Regions from separate parts of the Homo sapiens genome. Here regions 1, 2, 3, 5, 6 and 7 are each linked to region 4. Evidence: promoter capture Hi-C in 16 types of primary human blood cells and fetal thymus (Javierre and others, 2016). All regions are on one chromosome and are shown on one strand. The core of a region is centred on a gene start or on the middle of the fragment in contact, and the rest is flanking DNA. Distances in the headings are between cores, read along the strand shown. Region 1 overlaps CACNB2 (calcium voltage-gated channel auxiliary subunit beta 2). Region 2 overlaps CACNB2 (calcium voltage-gated channel auxiliary subunit beta 2). Region 3 overlaps CACNB2 (calcium voltage-gated channel auxiliary subunit beta 2). Region 4 holds the start of STAM (signal transducing adaptor molecule). Region 5 overlaps RSU1 (Ras suppressor protein 1). Region 6 overlaps CACNB2 (calcium voltage-gated channel auxiliary subunit beta 2). Region 7 overlaps CACNB2 (calcium voltage-gated channel auxiliary subunit beta 2).

The links. The method cuts DNA at HindIII sites, captures the fragments that hold promoters and counts their contacts. A CHiCAGO score of 5 or more calls a contact.
Region 1: a contact is called between a fragment that was not itself captured here and the fragment with the promoter of STAM in region 4, in 1 of 17 cell types (monocytes). The highest score is 6.5, in monocytes.
Region 2: a fragment that was not itself captured here is called in contact with the fragment with the promoter of STAM in region 4 in 1 of 17 cell types (monocytes); the score reaches 5.2 in monocytes.
Region 3: a contact is called between a fragment that was not itself captured here and the fragment with the promoter of STAM in region 4, in 4 of 17 cell types (fetal thymus, M1 macrophages, M0 macrophages and 1 more). The highest score is 10.4, in fetal thymus.
Region 5: a contact is called between a fragment that was not itself captured here and the fragment with the promoter of STAM in region 4, in 5 of 17 cell types (neutrophils, naive CD8 T cells, naive CD4 T cells and 2 more). The highest score is 8.4, in neutrophils.
Region 6: a fragment that was not itself captured here is called in contact with the fragment with the promoter of STAM in region 4 in 1 of 17 cell types (monocytes); the score reaches 11.1 in monocytes.
Region 7: a fragment that was not itself captured here is called in contact with the fragment with the promoter of STAM in region 4 in 1 of 17 cell types (monocytes); the score reaches 6.1 in monocytes.

The regions. Positions count from the first base shown.
Region 1 is chr10:18,269,900-18,273,076 of GRCh38, forward strand. The region is part of intron 2 of CACNB2 (calcium voltage-gated channel auxiliary subunit beta 2); the gene reads left to right. Among named protein-coding and RNA genes, the nearest start is that of CACNB2-AS2, 10 kb to the left of the region's middle. The HindIII fragment of the contact is 1,057 bases long and covers 1,123-2,179 here.
Region 2 is chr10:18,324,814-18,327,983 of GRCh38, forward strand. All of the region lies in intron 2 of CACNB2 (calcium voltage-gated channel auxiliary subunit beta 2), which reads left to right. Among named protein-coding and RNA genes, the nearest start is that of CACNB2-AS2, 65 kb to the left of the region's middle. The HindIII fragment of the contact is 4,487 bases long and covers 1-3,170 here.
Region 3 is chr10:18,216,853-18,219,751 of GRCh38, forward strand. All of the region lies in intron 2 of CACNB2 (calcium voltage-gated channel auxiliary subunit beta 2), which reads left to right. Among named protein-coding and RNA genes, the nearest start is that of CACNB2-AS2, 43 kb to the right of the region's middle. The HindIII fragment of the contact is 3,237 bases long and covers 1-2,899 here.
Region 4 is chr10:17,642,741-17,646,084 of GRCh38, forward strand. STAM (signal transducing adaptor molecule) reads left to right here and starts at 1,411. Exons shown (of 14, transcript NM_003473.4): 1 at 1,411-1,639. The coding sequence starts at 1,600. It overlaps STAM-DT (STAM divergent transcript), which reads right to left and starts at 1,178. Exons shown (of 1, transcript NR_110370.1): 1 at 1-1,178. RefSeq lists enhancers at 365-1,013, 1,014-1,663, 1,086-1,155, 1,306-1,425. The HindIII fragment of the contact is 8,791 bases long and covers 1-3,344 here.
Region 5 is chr10:16,793,037-16,796,227 of GRCh38, forward strand. All of the region lies in intron 2 of RSU1 (Ras suppressor protein 1), which reads right to left. Among named protein-coding and RNA genes, the nearest start is that of RSU1, 23 kb to the right of the region's middle. RefSeq lists enhancers at 2,431-2,650, 2,861-2,920. The HindIII fragment of the contact is 3,505 bases long and covers 143-3,191 here.
Region 6 is chr10:18,302,956-18,306,085 of GRCh38, forward strand. All of the region lies in intron 2 of CACNB2 (calcium voltage-gated channel auxiliary subunit beta 2), which reads left to right. Among named protein-coding and RNA genes, the nearest start is that of CACNB2-AS2, 43 kb to the left of the region's middle. The HindIII fragment of the contact is 1,147 bases long and covers 1,143-2,289 here.
Region 7 is chr10:18,287,178-18,290,493 of GRCh38, forward strand. The region is part of intron 2 of CACNB2 (calcium voltage-gated channel auxiliary subunit beta 2); the gene reads left to right. Among named protein-coding and RNA genes, the nearest start is that of CACNB2-AS2, 27 kb to the left of the region's middle. The HindIII fragment of the contact is 5,609 bases long and covers 1-3,316 here.

The sequences.
Region 1 (3,177 bases), core at 401-2,900, 630 kb after region 4:
CATGTTCGATCATTGCTACTTCCTTGAGAGCTCTGGAATCTTTTCTTTCTATTCCACCTATCTCCATCCTAGTGCAGGCTGTTATTTTCTTCCCCAGTTACCACAGTAACTGCAGTAGTCCATTCTCACCCTGCTGTAAAGTAGTACTCAAGACTGGATAATTTATAAAGGAAAGATGTTTAATTGACTCACAGTTCCTCATAACTGGGTAGACCTCAGGAAACTTACAGTCATGGCAGGAGGCAAAGGAGAAATAAGGACCTTCTTCACGTGGCGGCAGGAGAGAGTAGAGAGCAAAGGGGGAAGAACCCCTTATAAAACCATCAGATCTCATAAAAACTTACTATCATAAAAACAATGTGGAAGAAACTGCACCCATTAACCAGTCACCTCCCACTGGGTCCCTCCCTCGACAAGGGGGGATTATGGGGATTACAATTCCACATGAGATTTGGGTGGGGACAAAGCCAAACTCTATCAGCAGCCTCCTAACTGGTCACCCCATCTTAGTCTTCATCCTTCAACAATCCATTCTCCACATTGGAACTGCCATTGTGATTTTTTTTCAAGAGCAATCATGGTATTTCTCTGCTTAAAGCCCCCAGTTGGTTCCCATTTTCTGAGAATATGAGTGCAATCTGAGCAATGTTGCTATGAGACACTTCTTGATCAAGCCACTGCTTGTCTCCTTAGCCTTAATTCTCAGCACCTTCATCCTCTGGAGTCCCCCAGTGGCATTGAATTTCATACAGTTTCCTAACAATCAACACTCTTTTATTTGCCTGTGCTCCTCCACAGAGGCTGTTCCCTGGTCTCGGTTAGGTATCCTTGCTTTTCCCCTATCATAACACTTACCCTACCTTATCCTAATTATCCCTCTAGTTGTCTGCCCATCTTAGAACTTAAGTTTCTTTCATTCCCTTTTTGATTGTTGTATCTCTGTTGCCCAGCAAGAATGCCTGGCCTCTGACAGACACTCAAGACGTAATGGTTGAATACATATATACATAATGCTGGGGAAATATCAAATTTTTACTCTTTCACTACTACCTCTTTATTCCTACTTGTCATTATAATATGTCGTTTTGGGGGATGGGGGTAATGCTCTCAGTCAGTCTATGAAGCTTCCCCTAGATACTTCATTGATTTATGTGATATATGTGAAATTTACTGTATACTTGTGTGTATAAACACACATACACAGAGCTTTGTGATGGTATAAGTGTTCCTTGGTCTCATCAATATGCAGAAAGTAGAAGAGAAATTTGGTTGATATGCATAAAGTAGAAGAGAAATTTGGTTGCTACAGTTTGCAACTATGTAATCATTTCCTCTTTTGGCCTCTTTTCCCGATTTAGATGATATTCCTTGTATTTCTTTTAAGAATATAAAGCAAGAAGCAGCTTATTTACCCATAACAAGGACCTACTGAAGTGCAGAGGAGATCTAAGTTCTGATTGAAAGCACGAAATTGACTAAAAGCCACAAACTAACTTTGTTTTAAAACAGCAGTTACAAAAGTAGGTAAATATGTTTAAAAACAAAAACATATTTAAAAACAAAAACCTATCTTCAAGCACAGCCATTTAAAAATAAAAACACCACCAGATTATTTAAAGCCTTGAGTTAAGGGCTTTAATGGCTATATGTATGGAAACCTTCCCTAACATCTTTATCATATATAAAACAAGCAGCTCCTATTTTAGGAGATGTGTCCTTCCTCCTTCCTTCTCCCGGTGGCAGCACAGGCAGGTAGCCGTTCTCTGAAGCAGCCTTTTGTGTTGTTGGTTTAGAGGCTTTCATTGCCCGCTAACCTTTCTGCTGAATAGATCTGTTTCCCATTGAGCCAGACTCCTGTGTGTGTTCTCTTCCTTGGTATTACATTGAGATAACAGCCAATTCTCTTCTGTTTGAATCATCAGAAGTAGCTTTATTTTTTGTTTATTGGGGTTTTTTTCTTCCTTGCACTTTTGTGATGAGCAGGTCACCATTCTCCTCCATACCACCAAAGGAATAAATAATTTATGTAACCTACCCTGATTTCCAAACAATAAACCTGAATAAAGAGAGTAAGGGACAAGGGTTCTGTTGTAATTTCCATCTCTTACCATTTTTTTCTTTCTTCCTTTCTTTTTTCTTTTTTTTTCTGGAGGGAGTAATATTTCCAGTGAGTCTGTGAAGCTTCCCCAGAGTGTCCCATTGACTTCTCTATGGTAGTTTCATTATTGGGTGAATCAGTTTTTTCTTTGGAGCAGATATGATATTATGAAACAATGTGATAGCTATTCGAAAGAGTGGATCACAATCTTTTTTCTACAGAGAGGAGTGGGACATAGTTCTAATTAGAACAAAGGCTTCTTAATGACTTTCAAGGCTCGTAGTTAAGGGAGACAGGGCAAGATGTCAAGGAATGGTGAGCTAAAAGAATCTACTTGGAAGATGTGGGATCTCTCCCTTCCTCTCCCCCAAGGTTCTATGCCTCTATATTCATAATTACCCTCCAAAAAACTTCAGAGAGGGTGGATAATATAATTCGGTGGTACATACTAGAAATCACCTCTTTCTAATTTAAAAGATAGAATTTATTGGAGGTTTGTAGCAATGCTGCTGATATGGTTTGGCTCTGTGTTCCCACCCAAATCTCACCTTGAAGTGTAATAATCCCCACGAGTCATGGGAAGGACCCGGTGAGAGGTAATTGAATCATGGGGGCAGATTTTTCTCATGCTGTTCTCATGATAGTGAACAAGTCTTACAATATCTGATGGTTTTATAAAGGGGAGTTCCCCTGCACAAGCCCTCTTATCCGCCGCCATGTAAGATGTCCCTTTGCTCTTCCTTTGCCTTCGGCCGTTGATTGTGAGGCCTCCGCAGCCATGAAGAACTGTAAGTCCATTAAACCTCTTTCTTTTATAAATTACCCAGTTTCAGGTATGTCTTTTTTAGCAGCATTAGAATGGACTAATACAGCTTCTTAGTGTGTACTTTGGGTCACTAGCGTTAGGATTCCCAGGGATGTTGGTCCCCAAAAAAATGCAGATCTCTGGGAACCATCTTAGACTCATAGACTCTGAATCTCAGGGATGGATCCTGATAATTTAATGTTTAATAATCTCTCAATGTGACTTCATTGTGCATCACTATTTTTTGAGGGCTACTGGCCAACAGCAGAGCTAT
Region 2 (3,170 bases), core at 459-2,958, 680 kb after region 4:
CCATTGCACCCCAGCCTGGACATCAGAGCAACAGAGCGTGACTCCATGTCAAAACAACAACAACAAAAACCTTACATGTGCCAGACACTATACTTAGCACTTTACATATGTTACTTATTCCTCACTCTTACGCCATGAAAGATGTGCTATTAGTATTAGCTTCATGAGCATGTCGCCTGTGCTGAGAAGGGCTCCACACTTGGATTACTGCTCTGCTATTATTCTGCTGTGATCCTTCATAATTTGGAACAAGGGACACCACATTTTCAGTGTGAACTGGGTCCCCCAGTCATGTAGCCAGAGCTAGTCCAGAGCATCCCCGTTTTTTAGTTGCAGAAACTGACCTACAAAGCAAAGTCATTTGCCTCAAACCTAGTTGGTTTTTGTCTTTTTAGGGACAGGATCCCACTTTGTCTCCCAGGCTAGAGTACAGTGGCTCAGTCATAGCTCACTATAACCTTGTCCTCCTGGGCTCAAGGGATCCTTGTGCCTCAGCCTCTCAGGTAGCTGGGACTACAGGCATGCACCACCATGCCCAGCTAATTTTTTTTTTAAATTTTTTGTAGAGATAGTGTCTTGCTACGTTGCCAAGGCTGGTCTTGAACTCCTGGTCTCAGGCAATCCTCCTGCCTTGGCCTCCCAAAGTTGCTGGTGTTACAGGCTTGAGCCACCACACCCAGATGAAACCTAGTCTGTCTGTCTTTCTTTCTCTTTCTTTCTTCCTTCTTTTCTTTTCCTTTTCTTTTCTTTCTTTCCTTTCCTTCTTTTTCTTTCTCTCTTTCTCTGTCTTTTTTCTTTCTTTCCTTTCTCTTTCTTTCCTTCTTTTCCTTTCTTTCCTTCTCTCTCTCTCTTTCTTTCTCTTTCCCTCCCTCCCTCCCTTCCTTCCTTCCTTCCTTCCTTCCTTCTCTCTCTTTCCCTTTCCCCTTCCCCTCCCCTTTCTTCCCTTTCCTTTCTTTCATCTGGCTCTATCACACAGCCTGGAGTATAGTGGCATAATCTCAGCTCACTGCAGCCTCCACCTCCCAGACTCAAGCCAACCTCTCACCTCAGCCTCCTGAGTAGCTGGGACCAGAGGCGCACACCACCATGCTCAGCTCATTTTTGTACTTTTTGTAGAGATGTAATTCCTCCATATTGCCCAGGCTGGTCTTGAACTCCTGGGCTCAAACTCCTGGGCTCCCAAAGCTGCTGAGATTATAGGCATGAGCCACTGTGCCTAGCTGAAACCTATTTTTTCTTCATGTTGATTCCTACGGTGTTAGTCCTATGCTAACCTGACTCTGTTGTCTTCTATTTTCAAGATAAATCATTAACAGAAGATATGAGCTACTACAGTTATTCAGAGTTAGTGTACAGAAACAGAAAAAAATAAAGCAGTTTTAAAAAGGAAAAAAATGGACTGAATGATTAGGAATAAATAAAACATGCAAATATTACCTTGAGTCAAAATTGGAATTCCAAAATGAATAATTAGTAGATGTAAGGCATTCCTCCAGTGTACTTCATGGCTTGAATTCAAAATCATGTTCCAAGGTAAATAAATCTGCTCCATCTTGTTTATCCAAAGGGCAGTTTGGTGTTGACTTAGTTCTGCTCTTTTTTGGTAACTTATTCAAGAAAAGCAAAGAGCAGAAAATTCGTGGTGTTTTAATCCAGGGAGAAGGAGCGGGTGGAAGTAAACAGAGTTCCTCCTTCATCAGACTTCGTCAGAACTGCTATGCCCTCTGACTGCATTAGATTAAATACTGCAAATAAATTGGATCCCATTTGGTACTTAATAAGCACAGCTCACTTGGAAGAAGTTTTACTTCAAGATATCTTCACTTTTCTTTGGAATATGACAGTTTACCCCTCTGACCACATGAACCTCTTCAAAATTTTATTTATGCTCCTTCATGTTAATTCAGAAAGTAGAAAGTAATAATTTTTTTGAGACAGGGTCTCACTCTGTTGCCCAAGTTGGAGTACAGTGGTGTGATCAGGGCTCACTGCAGACTTGACCTTCTGGGCTCAAGCAATCCTCCCGCTTCAGCCCTCCGAGTAGCTGGGACTACAGGCATGTGCCACCATGCCCAGCAATTTTTTGTATTTTTGGTAGAGACGGGTTTTTTTGCCATGTTGCCCTTGCTGGTCTTGAACTCCTGGACTCAAGTGATCCGCCCACCTCAACCTCCCAAAGTGCTGGGATTACAGGCGTGAGTCACTGCACCTAGTGAAAGTAATGATTTTTTTTTAAGCATTCCCATAGGCCACCCTTCCTTGAAGACTGATAAGTCAAATTTCCATGATATTAAAGAATGGTATCCTAGAACATTCCAGATTGGTTTTCATTCTGTTTGACTTAAAGATTTGAAATATGTTCTGATGTTATTCCAGAGCACCTGTGGATTTGAGGGTCCAAGAAAAGTGACCACAAAAGAGCATACCTATTAATTATATAAAGAACATGTTTTTTGTAAGTATATCCATTATATTTTCATAATAAAAATAACATGATTTTATTTCTATTTATTTCTTCAGCCTCCAAAAATATCAGATATACCTAAATGCTCTTTTGTAGAAATATGCACATCTGGAAATCCTAAGTTGCCCGGTCATTTTTGTTTGTTTGTTTGTTTTTATTTGTTTTGAGACGGAGTCTCCCTCTGCCACCTAGGCTGGAGGGCAGTGGAGTGATCTCGGCTCACTGCAACCTCCACCTGCTGGACTCAAGCGAGTCTCCTGCCTCAGCCTCCTGAGTAGGTGGGATTACAGGCGCATGCTACCGTGCCCAGCTAATTTTTGTATTTTTAGTAGAGACGGAGTTTCTCCACGAAACCAGGCTGGTCTCAAACTCCTGACCTCAAACAGTCTGCCCACCTCGGCCTCCCAAAGTGCTGGGATTACAGGTGAGGCATGAGCCTCCACGCCCAGCCCCAGTCATGTTTTCAATGACCACATTTATACCCTGTATTCTGCTGAAGACAGAAATTTAAGGCAGTATCCGACTAACCTCTTCTTACAGATGAGCAGGGTTTGGCACACTAGAGCCTCTGGAGCTAGGACTGAGGGTTGGGGGGTGTCCTGGCAGGGCTAGTTCAAGACTTCAGGGCAAGGGGAAGTTTTGTCAAATGCCTGAGGAAAGGCAGAGTGGAAGTTGAAGACATATCAGAAGTGTCAAATTCTTGAAG
Region 3 (2,899 bases), core at 166-2,665, 570 kb after region 4:
TGCCCAGGTCATAGGACCAATGACAACCTACATGTGAGACCAGGTCAGAATGGAAGTGCTATAAGTATCTTATTTAACCAGTTCATTTATTTGGGTCAAGTTGAACTATTTTCTAGCAATAACCCAGAGATCCTTTCTAGGATATAAATAGAACCTTTTTATTCATTTATCTTTTCATACGTTTATTGAATAAATATTTACTTCACCTCTGCTCTAGGCAGGCATATGAGATGCATTGGTGAGCAAATATTTCTTGGGACCCTGTGTGCACCCCAGGAAATCCCCTTCCCACATGGGGCTTCCATTTTGGTTGGTAGATAAAGCTATAAACAAATACTATAAATAAGTCGGCTGTGCAAGCTGGCTCACACCTGTAATCCCAGCACTTTGGGAGGCCGAGGCTGGTGGATCACCTGAGGTCAGGAGTTCGAGACCAGTCTGGCCAACATGGTAAAACCCCATCTCTCCTGAAAATACAAAAATTAACCAGGCAGAGTGGTGTGCGCCTATAGACCCAGTAACTCGGTAGGCTGAGGCAGGAGAATCACTTGAATCCAGGAGGCAGAGGTTGCAGTGAGCCAAGATCGTGCCGCTGTACTCCAGCCTGGGCGACAGAGTGAGACTCCATCTCAAAATAAAGAAAGGAAAATAAAATAAACAAGTCAATTGTTTAGTATGGCAAAATTGTATAAATGTTATAGAAAAAAAGAAAATGGAGATGAGCATAAGGGAAGTCAGAGTGTGTATTTCCATCTTAAGCAGGGAGGTCAAGATGGTCCTCACTGACAGAGTGACATTTGAGCAAAACTTGATGTGAGAAAATAATCACATGCTTATCTAGGAGAACATTCCAAGCAGAGAGAACAGCCATTGCGAAGGCCTAAAGACCATGTGACTGGTGTGTTCAGATATACCAAGGCCAGTGTAGCTGGAGCAGAAAGAGGGAAGGAGGAGAGGTGGGAAGGGGAACCAGGCCAGTTCATGCACTAAAATATGTCTTGTGACCCTGTCTCCACCCCAGGAAATGCTTGCCCCTGCGTTACCCTTGGTAGCCTTTTCTTGGTTGAGATGGTGGTGCATGCTTTAGTTTCTCAGTAAGAATTTCACACTACTAGGAAGAGCCCCTTGTGTCTTCGGTATAATACTGGGTCATGACTGATATGCTCTTCATTCCCTGTATTATATTTTGCAGGACATTCTAAAGGTTTGGGGGAGAACTGAATTCTAACAGATGGTGCACACTGCTGTTGTGATCACAAAGGCCTGAGGCAGACCACTTCAGTCTAACATGTCATTACCAATTTAATAGAAATATTTCTTGTTGGACTAGTCTCTAACAAATGTACATTGTTTGTGAGAATTGGTCTTACTGAATTCTGAAGGTATTTTTGTCCTTACTGGAGTGACAGCATAATATTTTGACAAATCAATTCAATTAAACAACCTACTGATTAAGTCAGACAGACGAACTGATTTGTTTTCCAGATTATTGATTGCCATCACTGAATTCCATACAATTTATTTGACATAGTAAGAGTATAGATTGTTCACAATCTAGATCCCAAGAGACATTAAATGTTCTTGGTTATAACATTTTTATTCTGTAGATAAGAAAATGGAGGCCCAGAGATCTGTATGAATGTGTATGTGTAGCACTGCCATTCAATTAGCTGTGTGTGTGCATGTGTGTGCATGTAGGTACCTTATGTGTCTGTCTGAAATTTATCTGCTATTCAAAATACTTCTGGGCAGGGCACAGTGGCTCATGCCTGTAACCCCAGTACTTTTGGGTGGATCATGAGGTCAGGAGATTGAGACCATCCTGGCTAACACAGTGAAACCCCGTCTCTACTAAAAGTACAAAAACTTAGCCAGGCATGGTGGCACGTGCCTGTAGTCCCAGCTACTTGGGAGGCTGAGGCAGGATCACTTGAACTCTGGAGGCACAAGCTGCAGTGAGCCAAGATCATACCACTGCACCCCAGCCTGGGTGACAGAATGAGACTCCATCTCAAAAAAAAGTACTTCTGGCCAAGCACAGTGGCTCACGCCTGTAATCCCAACACTTTGGTAGGCTGAAGCAGAAGGATCTCTTGAGCCCAGGAGTTTAAGACCGGCCTGGGCAACATGGAGAAACCCTGTCTCTACAAAAAAATTTAAAAATTAGCCAGGTGTAATGGTGTGCACCTGTGGTCCTGGCTGCTTCAGAGGCTGAAGTAGGAGGATTGCTTGAGCCTGGGAGGTCGAGGCTCCAGTGAACCATGATCATGCCATTGCATTCCAACCTGGGCAACAGAGCAAGACCCTGTCTCAAAGACACAAAAAATACTTCTACCTCCAGAATTCGGAATGGTATTTTTCCATTCTTGTCACAAGTGAATTTCAAAGATTTGCTGGTTATAACATGTTCCTTTTTTTGCCTCAAATATTAAATGACTCAGCAGTCATTGTTCTCTGAGGGTGGGGAATGAAGTGATTTGAGCTGGTGATGAAAAATAGGAGAGAACCAGATGACCTGATAATTCAGTTTCCATGTGCTGCTGGCAAAGACATTTGACCTTCTGAGAAAAGTCAGCCTCCAAAGACTAAATATTGTTAATTTTTAAATATAGTTCTAGAGAATTCTTTTCCTAATCCTTTTACTGTAGTCCTGTTAATGCCTATAGCCCTGGGACAAGTTGTCCAGCACCAGAAGTGGACTTGCACAGAGGAACATATTAGTAATTTCCATCTGGCTCTGTACATGACTTGTAGATTAAACAGCCAATTGGGGCCTCCTTTAGAATACAAAAACTTGGGGAAATTCAACTGTTATATATTCTAGTCATTTTTTACACTTATAATTCCCTCAACTTCAATAGCTTCCAACTGTTATTCATCTTATCTCTGGCTTTCTGGC
Region 4 (3,344 bases), core at 161-2,660:
CCTTAGGAAGATTATACAGTATTTACACTTCATCCAACAGTATGTGAGTGTCTGACTCCTCACATCCCTGATTCTTTGCAATTTTTTTCTTTTTTTGAGACGGAGTTTCGCTCCCGGGTTCAAACGATTCCCAGCCTCAGCCTCCCGAATAGCTGGGATTACAAGCGCGCACCACCACGCCCGGCTAATTTTTTGTACTTTTAGTAGAGACGGGGTTTCACCATGGCCAGGCTGGTCTTGAACTCCTGACCTCAGGTGATCTGCCGGCCTCGGCCTCCCAGAGTGCTGGGATTACAGGCGTGAGCCACCGCGCCCGGCCGATTCTTTGTAATTTTTACCTAAATGACAAAACATTATCTAACTGCTACTTTAATTTGCACATTTCACTTTTAGAGGTGGGACTTCATTTTTAATGAATTTTTAAGCACTCTTTGATTACTATGTATTAATCCTGTGTTGACATGTCAATATTAGTTTCCACGCTACATTTGGAGATGCCGTAATTTGCGGGATAATTTCCATTTACGTACAAGATGTGCTTACTAAGTTTGTTCCAAGTGGGACGCAACATCTCTAGTAGATGCTCCTTAAAACTTCTCCATCACACAGAGAATAATTTTTATTGGTTAACTAAACTTATAAGTAAAATAAATAAACCAACATTTTGGGTTGCTAGGAATCACTCACTGATCAACTTTTAGCTCCAGTTTTTTTCTGTTTTCTTTTTTTTGCTCAGTCTAGGGAGGCTATCTTGGGCTGTGAAAGACATGTCACCAACCATCACAGCTGCTGAGTGATTGCACGGTTAGTCAGTAGGTGCCAACGCCCTGCTAGAAGAGCTGTCTGCAGATTCCAAAGCCGGGCGTTCAGGGACTCCCGGGAAGGAGCCAGCGTTACCTCAGCCTCTCCGAGGGACACGCGCGCCCTGAACACTCCCCTCTTGGGATTCAGGCCAATTCGTTCAGCTCCCATGACTTCATCCGAGCAAGTTTGTCACCTCACGCAGCTAATTAAACTGTTTACCTAGAAGATGATCCAAAGGAATTTCCATTTCCTTCCAGAGGGAATACAAGGTTATGATAACCGAGAGAGCGAGAGGAAAAAAGGCGCACAGCTCGACCCGAACTCAACCTGCTTTCTTTCTCCTGGCTCTCCCAGTCACTCCTGGGGTTGTTAGTAGGCTTCAGCACGCCTGAAGGACCCCGTCCTACGGAGACTCCTAGCCAAGGGAAAAGCAGAAAACACAAGAACTAATTCCACTCTTATGTGTGACTAATTAAAAGAGGAGTCAGGCAGAGGGGACTCCCTGTTCAGCCTTTACCGATGGGGCAGGCTCGGGGCAGCTTTGAGACAGGCAGCGCCAAGGTCGCCCAGATTCCCGACAAGCTCCGCGCGGGGGCTTCCTCGGCTCCTTGCTGTTGCCGCCGCCGCAGCTGCTGCCGCGGTTGGTGGGGTTGGGTGAGAGGAGGAGCTGTCGCGGACCCTGTAGAGTCGGTCTCTGTTGCTCTTTTTGCCTGAGGAGTCTTCCATCCTACGTCGAGCTCTGACTCCCGTGCTGTCGAGAGGGAGTCCCCGGGGACACCTCGGCACGCAGCGGAGATGCCTCTTTTTGCCACCAATCCCTTCGATCAGGATGTTGGTAAGTGTTTTTGCCTCTCCCTGCCCATTCCTCACCGGACTGCACGCTCACTCTGCCAGCCCCTGCCTGCATTCAGGACCCTCGGGCCAGGGCCAAGGAAGAGCTCGCTCTTCCCCTTTCCTGAGGCTCCCTCCTTCAGAGCTGGGAGGAGGTTGAGGGCTTGGCGCATCCTCTTTGAAAGAAATGGGACTCATCCTGTGAAATGGGCCTTGAGCTAGGACTGTAGGTTGCCAAAGAACTGCTGAATGGGTTGGTGTAAAGGGCCTGGGAGGAGCAGCTGGTGTAGCATCTGGTGCAGGGACTGTGCTTCTGGAAGAACAGCGAAGGGCTTAAGGCGTATGTTGGCTAGATTAGGATTGTAAACCCTGTACCAAAAGTGCTTGCCTAGACAAATAAATGTTGAGCGTCTGGAACTGGCAGAATGTTTTAGGTAAGGTTCCTTAGAGGATTTTAAAATCTTTTGTAACGGTAACTGAAGGAGGGAGCTCTGGTTAAGGGTAGACTCTCAAACATGTTAGGAGCGATGAAGATGAAATACTTGGCAACGACTGAAACCGAATTGAGGACCTGAGCCTTTGGGATGTCTCTCTTAGGCTAGGTCTCTGCACTTTAAAAGGTGTAAAGAAGTGTGGAAGAAGTTGTTGAATCTGGAAAGAGTTTGAAATGCTACATTTTTGTTGTTTTCTGAATCACTGGTATTAGGTACTGATGATGTCAATTCAATAGGTTTGCTTTTGGTTTTTAATTTTATTTTATTTTATTTTTTTCTGACTTGAAGATAATAATTATGGGAATTTGAGTTTCCGGGGAGAGAATTTTGGTTTAATTTGAACGCACGTAGGAACTACCTTGGCACACAAGTGTGGAATGAAAGCAAGCCAAATACCATTTCCAAATCCCTTATGGCAGAATGTAATCATTACTGTGAATAAGGACAACCTTATGAATTTACTTGTCTTTGTGTATTTTAATTATGAAAGGTGGATGTTGAATTTTTCTTTTTAAACTCTTCCTTAGAGCATGTCACTGAAACTTGGAAGTTTATATAAGAGTAGAAAAAAGTTCACTCCTTACCTCTGCCACTTCTCAGCTCACGGTGAAATCATAGGCAAGTTAAATTCTTTGAGTTCCAGTGTTCTTGTCTTTAAAGAGGGGAAAACACATCATTCCATTCTGCAGTTAAATAATATGTCTAGAGGGCCTGCTACAGTACCTTTATGTGGTTGGCACTTACTAGATGCTACCTTTTTTGTTCCACCTTAAATGAGTGTCCTGAATCTTAGCAGTGGACAGAACCTTGGAGATCACCGATTATACTTAATGAATTGGAAAATTGCATTTAATTTAATAAGCAGTTAGCACACACTACAGGACACAGCAGCTCAGTGACATAAGAGATACAGTGATGAGCAAGGCCTAGTTGCTGTTCTCAAGCAGTTTTACATCTCACTACATGAATCTCTAGGGGAAATACTTAAAACAGCTTCTTAATACTTGCTTCTTCTGTTTACAGCACCTTTGTCTAGTTTTCTTGGTCCTGTATAATTTAGCTAGCAACTACCCAATCACCTTTATATTCTACTGACTTTGTGAACACATATTTGCATTGGATTCAGGTAAATTTCTTAATGTCAAACCCGTTCCTAGTAGCTGTACCACCCAGTTCAAACACAGGCACCTTCTTGCCTTTATGCTTTTGTCCTAC
Region 5 (3,191 bases), core at 645-3,144, 850 kb before region 4:
TTAAAATGAAGACAGACAATAAAATATTTGATATCAATAAATAATAAAAATATCATATTCACCAACACACCAGAATCATAAAAAGCTTTCTTCTGAATTTTGTTCATAAGGTAAAACTTTTAAAATATCACGGTGGGATGAAAGCTTTTCCTTATTTCACAACTAATTAGTGTGCAGGGTTACTGAAACTCTTCAGTAGTAAGTTTTCAAAACACTTGAAATTTTGAATACTTGACTGAATTCTACTATTTATAGATAAAGGGTCTATCAATCACAATTAAGTCCTCTCTCAATCAATGACAAAACAATTGAACATAAATGACAACTGAAAAAAAAAGATGGCCCCTGTTTCTACACATAATAGCAGCAAATTCACCTATCTTGAGAACCCCCCATGAGCTGGTCACTAATTGGAGTCTATGAGTCCATCAGGACATTAAGGAGAAAGAAGACAGACAGACCCAAGACACTGGTATTTAAATTATGGAGCCCACATCATTCTTGTCCAAACACACAGTTTTTGCTCCAGGAAAAAATACACAGAAAAACTATTTCTGAAGATGCCTGAGAGAATTAAAGAGAAAAATATAGTAAGCCACCTAAGATATGCAGTCACTGGATGGTATTAACAAAACTTGGTGAGCTACAGCTACTCTGCAAGCCACTGTACTTCTTTGGTGGGACAGGGATAGAATATGAGTGAGATGCAGCTGCTGCCCTCAATGAGCTTCCTCTGCAATAAGGAGATGAAATAAAACACTAGGATACAATACAGAAAGTGATGGTGAATGTTATTTGTCAACTTGACTGGGCTACGAGATACCCAGATAGCTGGTAAAATGTTCTTTTCCAGGGTCTGTGAGGGTGTTTCCAGAAGAGATTAGCATTTGAATCAGGGGACTGAGTAAAGAAGACCTACCCTTGCCAATGCAGGTGAGCAATAACCAATTCATTGAGCGCCTCAATAGAATAAGAAGGCAGAGGAAGGGAGAATTCATGAAGATCCATCTTCTCCTGCCCTCAGACATCAGAGTTCCTGGTTCCTGGGCCTTCAGATTCTGGGACTTGCATCACTGACACGCACCCCTCCTATGACTCTCCAGCCTTTGGCCTTGCACTAAATTACATTACCAACTGTCCAGGTTCTCCAGCTTGCAGACAGCACATCATGTGACTTCTTAGCCTCCATAATCACCTGGGCCAATTTCCATAATAAATCTCCATATATATATTGCCTATGGATTCTGTTTCTCTGGAGAACTCTGACAGGCAGACTTGTACCATAAAAGTACTAAGGTGCTTTGAAACTCCCATTAAAAGGGAAGTGCCTGAAAATTTTTTTAGGGTTAATAAAACCTTCAAGGACCAGAGTCCATTTTGTTTTATTTCTAACTACCTTCCTCCTCTGTCTCTTCTTTTTTCTTTTTAGCTTGTTTGTATTGACTAATTTTTCTAGCATAAACTATTTTATTTGTGTAACACAAAACTTATGCAGTTTTAGAAATCATGGTTATAGAATGTTGGAGCCAAAGGAACTCTAGAAATCAAACAACTTAAGCTCCTCAATTTACAGATAAGAAAACAGTGGGCCAGAGAAGTAAAGGTATTCTAAGATTCCACGGGCCAGCAGAATCAGAACAGAGTACAATCAAGGTTTCCAGATTCTAAATCTTGAGCTTCTTCTTTGCAAACTGGAAAATTATTATTGACACCTGGATGGAATGTCCTTTATGACAGCAATTCCAACCATAATAAAAATAATATAAACCTGAATGGAAAATTCCTTCCTATCTAGAATAAAATAAGACACAAAAGCAAAGCAAAGAACGCACAGTTCCTAGCAGGTGAGACCTGCCCTGTCATCCCATGAGATCCTGAGAAAAATCACTGGATTGTTCTGGAGCACAAATTCCTCATCTTTAAAATGAAACAAATAAAAGAGAGAAAAAAGATTATTTATGTAATGACCACTACATCACTGTGTTGTGCTGAGCACTTTACATATGTGTTCACTAGAATCAAAAATGTTAGAACAGTCCCGGCGTGGTGGCTCATGCCTGTATTTCCAGCACTTCGGGAGGCCGGGGCAGGCAGATCACCTGAGGTCAGGAGTTCGAGACCAGCCTGGCCAACATGGTGAAGCCCCATCTCTACTAAAAATACAAAAATTAGCCAAGTGTGATGGTGGGTGCCTGTAATCCCAGCTACTGGGGAGGCTGAGGCAGGAGAATTGCTTGAACCCAGGAAGCAGTGGTTGCAGTGAGCCGAGATCGCGCCACTGCACCCAAGCCTGGGCGACAGAGTGAGACTCCATCTCAAAAAAAAAAAAAAAAAAAAATTAAAAAAAAATAAGGTAATAACAAACAACAATAGCTAATGCTTACCAAATGCTTAAAACATGACTGGCACAGTTCTAAGAACTTTATCAATTCACCTATTTCTCACGATAACCCTACAAGGCAATAGTAGTCTCTTCTTCCCTCTCAATTTTAGATGAGAAAAATGAGACACAAGAGGTTATGTAACTTGTCTGTGATTTCAGAACTAGTAAGCAGAGAGAACCCCCTAAAAGCTGTTTCCAAACAAGAAGCTGATTAATTCTGATACTGTCTTACTGGCTAAACAAATATGCCACCGGTTGCATCCACAATTTGCCAACTGCATGGCATTTTATGATGTTCAAAAGACAAGGAGTTTAAGTACACAGGTTGTTTTTTTGCCAAAGTTAAGACATGAGCAGTATTAACTGTGCACACTTTGCATTTCAGAAAATTGGGTGTATCTTCAACCCCCCGGACCCCTAAACAAGCCGCCCAGGTGAGGCACCGGCACCCTCTTCCCAGGGGCTGATGTCAGACGTTTCTCTATCACTCTCCATTCTCCGCTTGAGCAGCAGCTCTCTGCGTCCGCCTCAACCTTCCCCCATACTTCTCACCTGAACCTGGCCCCACATTTCCCTGGGAAAAGTAAACCTTCTTTTCAAGCAGGAGGAGCTGGAATCCTAAACCTGCTGTCTGTACAAAAGCCACATGACTCTTGGAGCTCTAAGAGTTCTAAGTCCCTCAACAGTCACTAAATATTAGAAGACCATGGTGTGCCACCTGCTCTTACCCGAAGGCAAAACATGATTTGGTCTCGTAGGCAGCTCAACCATTATTTTTAACCTTGGATTTTGATTCTCTCCCCACATG
Region 6 (3,130 bases), core at 466-2,965, 660 kb after region 4:
AGATCGCATCTCTCTTCATAAAGCTCTTTTATAGTTTCACACCTGTAATCAGCTGTCCTTTAAACTCTGAAGCTTCACGGGGGTCTCCTTAGACTCGTTAGTCTCATGGTGGCACTCACAGTGGAGGATGTCCTTGTTGGCTACTGGTGTCACCTTTGGAGTTGAAGGAATAGACAGTTTATTCTTGTTTTTGCTTTTCTCTCATGGCTGTGCGGGAGTGCTGGCAAAAAGATAAGGATGTGAGAAATGTTTAAGAAAGGGAGAAGGCCAGGCATGGTGACTCATCCCTGTAATCCCAGCACTTCGGGAGGCCAAGGTGCGAGGATCACTTGAGCTGAGGAGTTCAAGAACAGCCTGGCCAGCATAGTAAGACGTCATCTCTGCAAATAATAATTAAAAGTTAGTCAAGTATGGTGGTGCACGCCTTTGTTCCCAGCCGCTCAGGGGGCTGAGATAGAAGGCTCGCTTGAGCCCAGGTTGGGAAGGCTGCAGTGAGCCATGATCACGCCACTGCAATCCAGCCTGCGTGATAGAGCAAGGCCCCATCTCAAACCAAAAGAAAATTAAAAAAAAGGGAGAAAAAAGAAACACAATCCAGGGCCACGTGTCTCAGATGTCACTTACTTCTCTTCATAAGAGCCAGTACTGAATTCTTAGAAGCTGTGCAACCCGTATGAAGGCAACCCATATGAAGGTTTTCATTTTCTGCTACTTTTTCAGTTATCCTGGAAAAAATACTGAGAGGCAACACCTGTTAAGGCAGGCTGTCCTTGGGGGTGCGTGTCCAGCGCTGCCCTTGACTAGTTGTGGCACTAGTTACTTATCTTCATGAAGTCTGTTTTCCAGTCCGTTCAGTGGGGGAGCGTTAAACCTGTCCTACCCACCTCAGACAATGAATTGCAAAGAAAATGATGTCTGTGTAAGAGTTTTGACATTATGCAACATTATATGAGATTAAAATTTATTCAAGATCTAGAAAAACCGCCAGTGTTTTTATTTTTTATTAGTATTGCTTGTTGAGACAGAGTCTTGCTCTGTCATCCAGGCTGGAGTGCAGTAGCACAGTCACAGCTCGCTGCAGCCTCAAACTTCCAGGCTCCATCGATCCTCCTACCTCACCCTCCTGAGTAGCTAGAACTACAAGCTTGCACCCCCACATCCTTCTAATGTTTTAATCTTTTGTAGAGATAGGGTTGCATTATGTTGCCCAGGCTGGTCTCAAACTCTTGGGTTCAAGCGAGCCTCCTGACTCAGCCTCCCAAAGTGCTAGGATTATAGGTGTGAGCCACTTCACCCGGCCTAATCAGTGTTTTCATACGTAGAATTGCAAGTCATGGTGGCAGTGGACAAGTTTATTTCTCAATACACAATGGGCAAGTATATTATCTCAAATGAGGAAATGAACTATGTTTATACCACCTAAGAGTTGTGGAGCTTAAAAAAAGTATTCAGCACATTTAAGAAAGGTATTAAATACATTTTGTTTCAAATATTGCATTGAAAACATTGTTTGTTTCCCCAAATTTCCAGGTGAAGGATAAGCCTGTGCTCTTTTTCACTCCATTTTTTTTTCCCAATGTAACCTAAACCTGTTAATATCTATATTCAGCAAAGCTGCCCTGGTTGCCTGGCAACCAGGCTTCGTGGGCTAGGGAAACACCAAGGCAAGGAACCAAAGGCAGCGAACACAACCTTGACTTTGCCTGCCGCTGCACAGGCGATCATCCTCTCTGTATTCTGTATAAAGCTCTATTTCCAAAACATAAGTAAATCTTGCAAGAATGTTAGCTCGATGCTATTAGGAGTTTAAAACTTACGGTTTGTGGGATAACATTTCAACATAATTAAATAAGCATGAAGAAATCTCTCTCTCTGCTCTTCCTTAATTAAAACAGGGGCGGTCCCTTTCCTCACAGGTCATGCTGTACATTTCAATCCCACTTTTTATTTCCTCTGCAGAAAGATGTGTGCATTATTCTTGGAATAAGATGTAATGGAAATTGAAATGTCAACTTTGAGAAATAGAAGTTTAGGACTCATTACTGCCAAACATATATTTTTGTGTCTTATACAAGGAAGTAAAAAGAAGAATGAATGAAAATGATTTTTCTTATTCCAATTCTTCCATGTTTCCACCTTTATCTCATTCCCTTTCTTATATTCTCCCCTGTGGGAACTTCATCACTTTAAAAATTAAGAACAAGGAAAGCCTTTGGGTTACAGGAAATAAATGTCGTCTACTTCATGGACAGTAAATGCTATGAGGCTGAGACAGAATTTGGAATTTAAAGCTTACATTATCTATTGTTTTATTATGTCACTTGTTTCATAAGGCAGCTTTTATTGGTTAAGTTCAATATTCAGAGGAAAAGTAAACTGAAGGACCCTGAAGCAGATCCTTTTTGAAATAAGATTGGAGAATAATATAAGGTAAAACATGTAACTGGGGCTGTTGAAGTGGAGATTTGGCTAAGTATGACAAAAATGAGAACAGAATACAGAGAAAATTAACTCAATAATATCTCAGCACAAATCCTCGAAATCTGCAATGAACGTATCTTTTGATTCCTAAGTCATGAAAGAAGACAGTCTTTCATTATTACTTTGCCATGTAATAGCCATTTATATCAATTTCACATTCTACTTTCTTCTATCCTTATTCCATAGCTGGTGTGAGTTAGTTTTCAAGACAAACTGGAAGTCCCAATTTTAAGTAACACCTCCTAATTTGTAAGTGTTGGCTTCAGTAAAAATTAACAACCTCACTCTGTAGGTCAAACAGAACCCATCTGGAAGCCAGGTTATGCTCATGGTTGACATTTGTGACCCCAGGTATAGGGGGAGAAGAAGGGTAACTGAGGAATTCTCACGTGTTAAGAGGCTGCATATAAAAATGATAAGTGTTGGGAGGCCGAGGTGGGAGGATCGCTTGAGCCCAGGAGTTGGAGGCTGCAGTGAGCTATGATTGTGCCACTGTACTCCAGCCTGGACAGCAGACCGAGACCCCATCTCTAAAAAAAGGAAAAGTAAAGTGATAAGTTGTCAAGGAGGTCAGACAAGAAACAGGGTCCTGCTTCACACTTTGATAAGTAAGGGTGCAGAACATTTCAGGAGGAAGAGAAGAGACAGC
Region 7 (3,316 bases), core at 91-2,590, 640 kb after region 4:
AATTAACCAGGCATGGTGGCTTGTGGCTGTAATCCCAGCTACTCAGGAGGCTGAGGCACGAGAATCACTTAAATATGGGAGGCAGAGGTTGCAGTGAGCTGAGATCACACCACTGCACTCCAGCCTGTTTGACACAGCGAGACTCTTTCTCAAAAAAAAAATCAAGTCACAAATATAAATTCTGACATTTTTCCCTTTAACATTTTACAGTGACATTAATGAAAGGAGCTTGGAATACTCCAAAGAGTCATGGAAAAGGAGAAGGGAGTGTTAGTGATTTGACATCTGTATTAGCTAGGGCTGGTGTAACAAAAGCACCAAAAAATGGTGTGGTTTAATACAACAGAAATTTACTGTCTCACAGCTCTGAAGCCTGGAAATTCAAAAACAGGGCCAGGCGCAGTGGCTCACGCCTGTAATCCCAGCACTTTGGGAGGCCAAGGTGGACAGATCACCTGAGCCCAAGAGTTTAAGACCAGCCTAGGCAACATAACAAAACCCCATTCCTACAAAAAATACAAAAATCGGCTGGGCACGATGGCACGCCCTGTAGTCTCAGCTACTTAAGAGGCTGAGTTGGGAGGATTGCTTGAGCCCAGGAATTTGAGGCTGCACTGAGCTATGATCATGACACTGCACTCCAGCCTGGGTGACAAAGTGAGACCCTATCTCAAAAACAAAACAAAACAAAAAAACAGAGGTGTTACTGGGGCTGTGCTATTGCTGATGATTGTAGGGGAGGATTCTCCCTTGCCTACTCCAGCTTCTGGTGTTTGCTGACAGTCCTGGCAATGCTCAGCTCCTAGCTGTATCACTCCAATCACGTGCTGTCTTCTCCTGTATCTTTACATCATCTTCCCTCTGTGCAGGTCTGTCTCTGTGTCCAACTTTCCTCTTTTTATAAGGACACCAGTCATATTGGATTAAGGCCCACCCTAGTGACCTCATTTGAACCTGATTACCTCTGTAAAGACCTTAATTTCTAAATCAGGCCACATTCTGAGGTCCTAAGGCCTAGAATTTCAACACAGCTTTTTGTGGGGTCATAACTCAAACCCATAACAACATCAGAACATTGTAATTCAAAGGAACACAAATTCAGGTTTACTTTGAAACTAAATATTTCTAGAATTAAATTTGTCCAGAGTTACATGGTCTAGTCTTACTTTCATACAACTCTCTTCTAACACACTGTGTTTGTGCTGGATATCCCTTTATGAGTTTTAAGAACTCTGAAATGTGAAAAGTACAAATAAGTAATCTCTTGCATTCCTATTTTAGTCAAAAGATCAGGCTCCAAATTGCTTTATTCATCTTTGAGTAGTATTGCAGAAAATTTTAACTGAAAATTATATTCAAAATACTGTTTTCAATTTCCTAATGGAACTGTAACCAATTAGTCAACCACAATTATTGAACAACCATGAGTACTGTATTCCCTGAGGAGAAAAAACATAGTTTTTAGGCAACTATAGCAAGATGCAGCAAATGAGATTTATACACACACACACACACACACACACACACAGAGATACCCAGTAGATGCAGAATCAAGGCACTCTTTTATTTAAAAAATCCTTTTCTCTGCCAGGCGCGGTGCCTCACACCTATAATCCCAGCACTTTGGGGGGCCAAGGTGGGCAGATCACTTGAGGTCAGGAGATCGAGACCAGCCTGGTCAACACGGTGAAACCCTGTCTCTGCTAAAAATACAAAAATCAGCCGGGCATGGCAGCACATGCCTGTCCTCCCAGCTACTCAGGAGGTTGAAGTGGGAGAATTGCTTTAACCCAGGAGGCAGAGATTACAGTGAGCCAAGATGGCATCACTGCACTCCAGCCTGGGCGACAGAGCAAGACTCCATCTCAAAACAAAGAAAAGTAAAGTAAAAAAATTTTTCTCCAGTTTTGTGTCTATTTTAATTTTTCTTCTGATTTTGAACTGATTAAAAATTTCATATCTGCAACTTTAGTTGTAATATCAAGTTTTGCTTTTTTAAAATCAAATGCTGGTTAATACTGCCTCTACCCCCGACCCCCTCCCCAGCAAAAAAATCCAGAATCATTCAAAATCAATCTTACGAAGTTGTCTTCATTTTTTTTTCTTGTTTTTTTGTTTTGTTTTTTTTTTTTTTTGAGATGGGGTCTCACTCTGTTGCCCAGGCTGGAGTGCAGTGGCGTGATCTCGGCTCACTGCAAGCTCCGCCTCCCGGGTTCATGCCATTCTCCTGCCTCAGCCTCACGAGTAGCTGGGACTACAGGTGCCTGACACCACACCCAGCTAATTTTTTGTATTTTTAGTAGAGATGGAGTTTCACCCAGTTAGCCAGGATGGTCTTAATCTCCTGACCTCGTGATCTGCCCGTCTCAGCCTCTCAAAGTGCTGGGATTACAGGCATGAGCCACCGCGCCCGGCCAAAGTTGTCTTCATTTTGAGTAAGATTTTTAAAAATGTAAAATACTTACCACAGAGAACATTTTCAGCAAATGGTAGCTATTATAATTGTAGATGCTGGATGGATGGATGGCACAGAGTTATCAGTGGCTTAAGCCCCTGCTGATAGCACTGATATTTACGTGACGTTTAGCTGTGTGGCCCCCTTTAGTTGTTCTATCCTTTATAAAATTTTACTCCAAAATATGTTTTTTGAGGAGTCCTGGAACATTATTATTTTTAAAATAAGTAGGAACCATAATTCCAAAGAATTCTTAGACACATAAGGGCAACATATGGTCCTTTAAAAATATATAGATGAGCAATTCTTTTAGAGTAGGTTGAAAGAGACTGAAAGAAAAAAATCCAGATGCCATTTGATTTCAGTGAGAGAAGAGTCTAAAAAGCACTCCTTTGACTTAATAGATCTTTTTTGAGAGGTATATGACATCTCTGTATCTTAATTTCCTTCTCTTTAAAGTTTTTTTCTTTTTTCTTTTTCTTTTTTTTTTTTTTTTTTTTTTTTTTTGCCTCAGCCTCCTAAGTAGCTGGGACTATAAGCGCGCGCCACCATGCCTGGCTAATTTTTGTATTTTTATAGACACGGGGTTTCACCGTGTTGGTCAGGCCGGTCCCAAACTCCTGACCTCAGGTGATCCGCCCACCTCGGCCTCCGAAAATGCTGGGATTACAGGCATGAGCCACTGAGCCTGGCCTCCTTTTCTTTAAAGTGTTTATGTTAATACCTATTTCCCAGATTGCTTGAGGCTGAGTATATATAAATGTCTTTGTGCATATAATAGAAGCTCAAGAAAAGTGACATCCAGTTTCTGGCTCCCTCTGTCACCTCCCATCACCTCAATCTCTTGGTCAAAGTGACCAT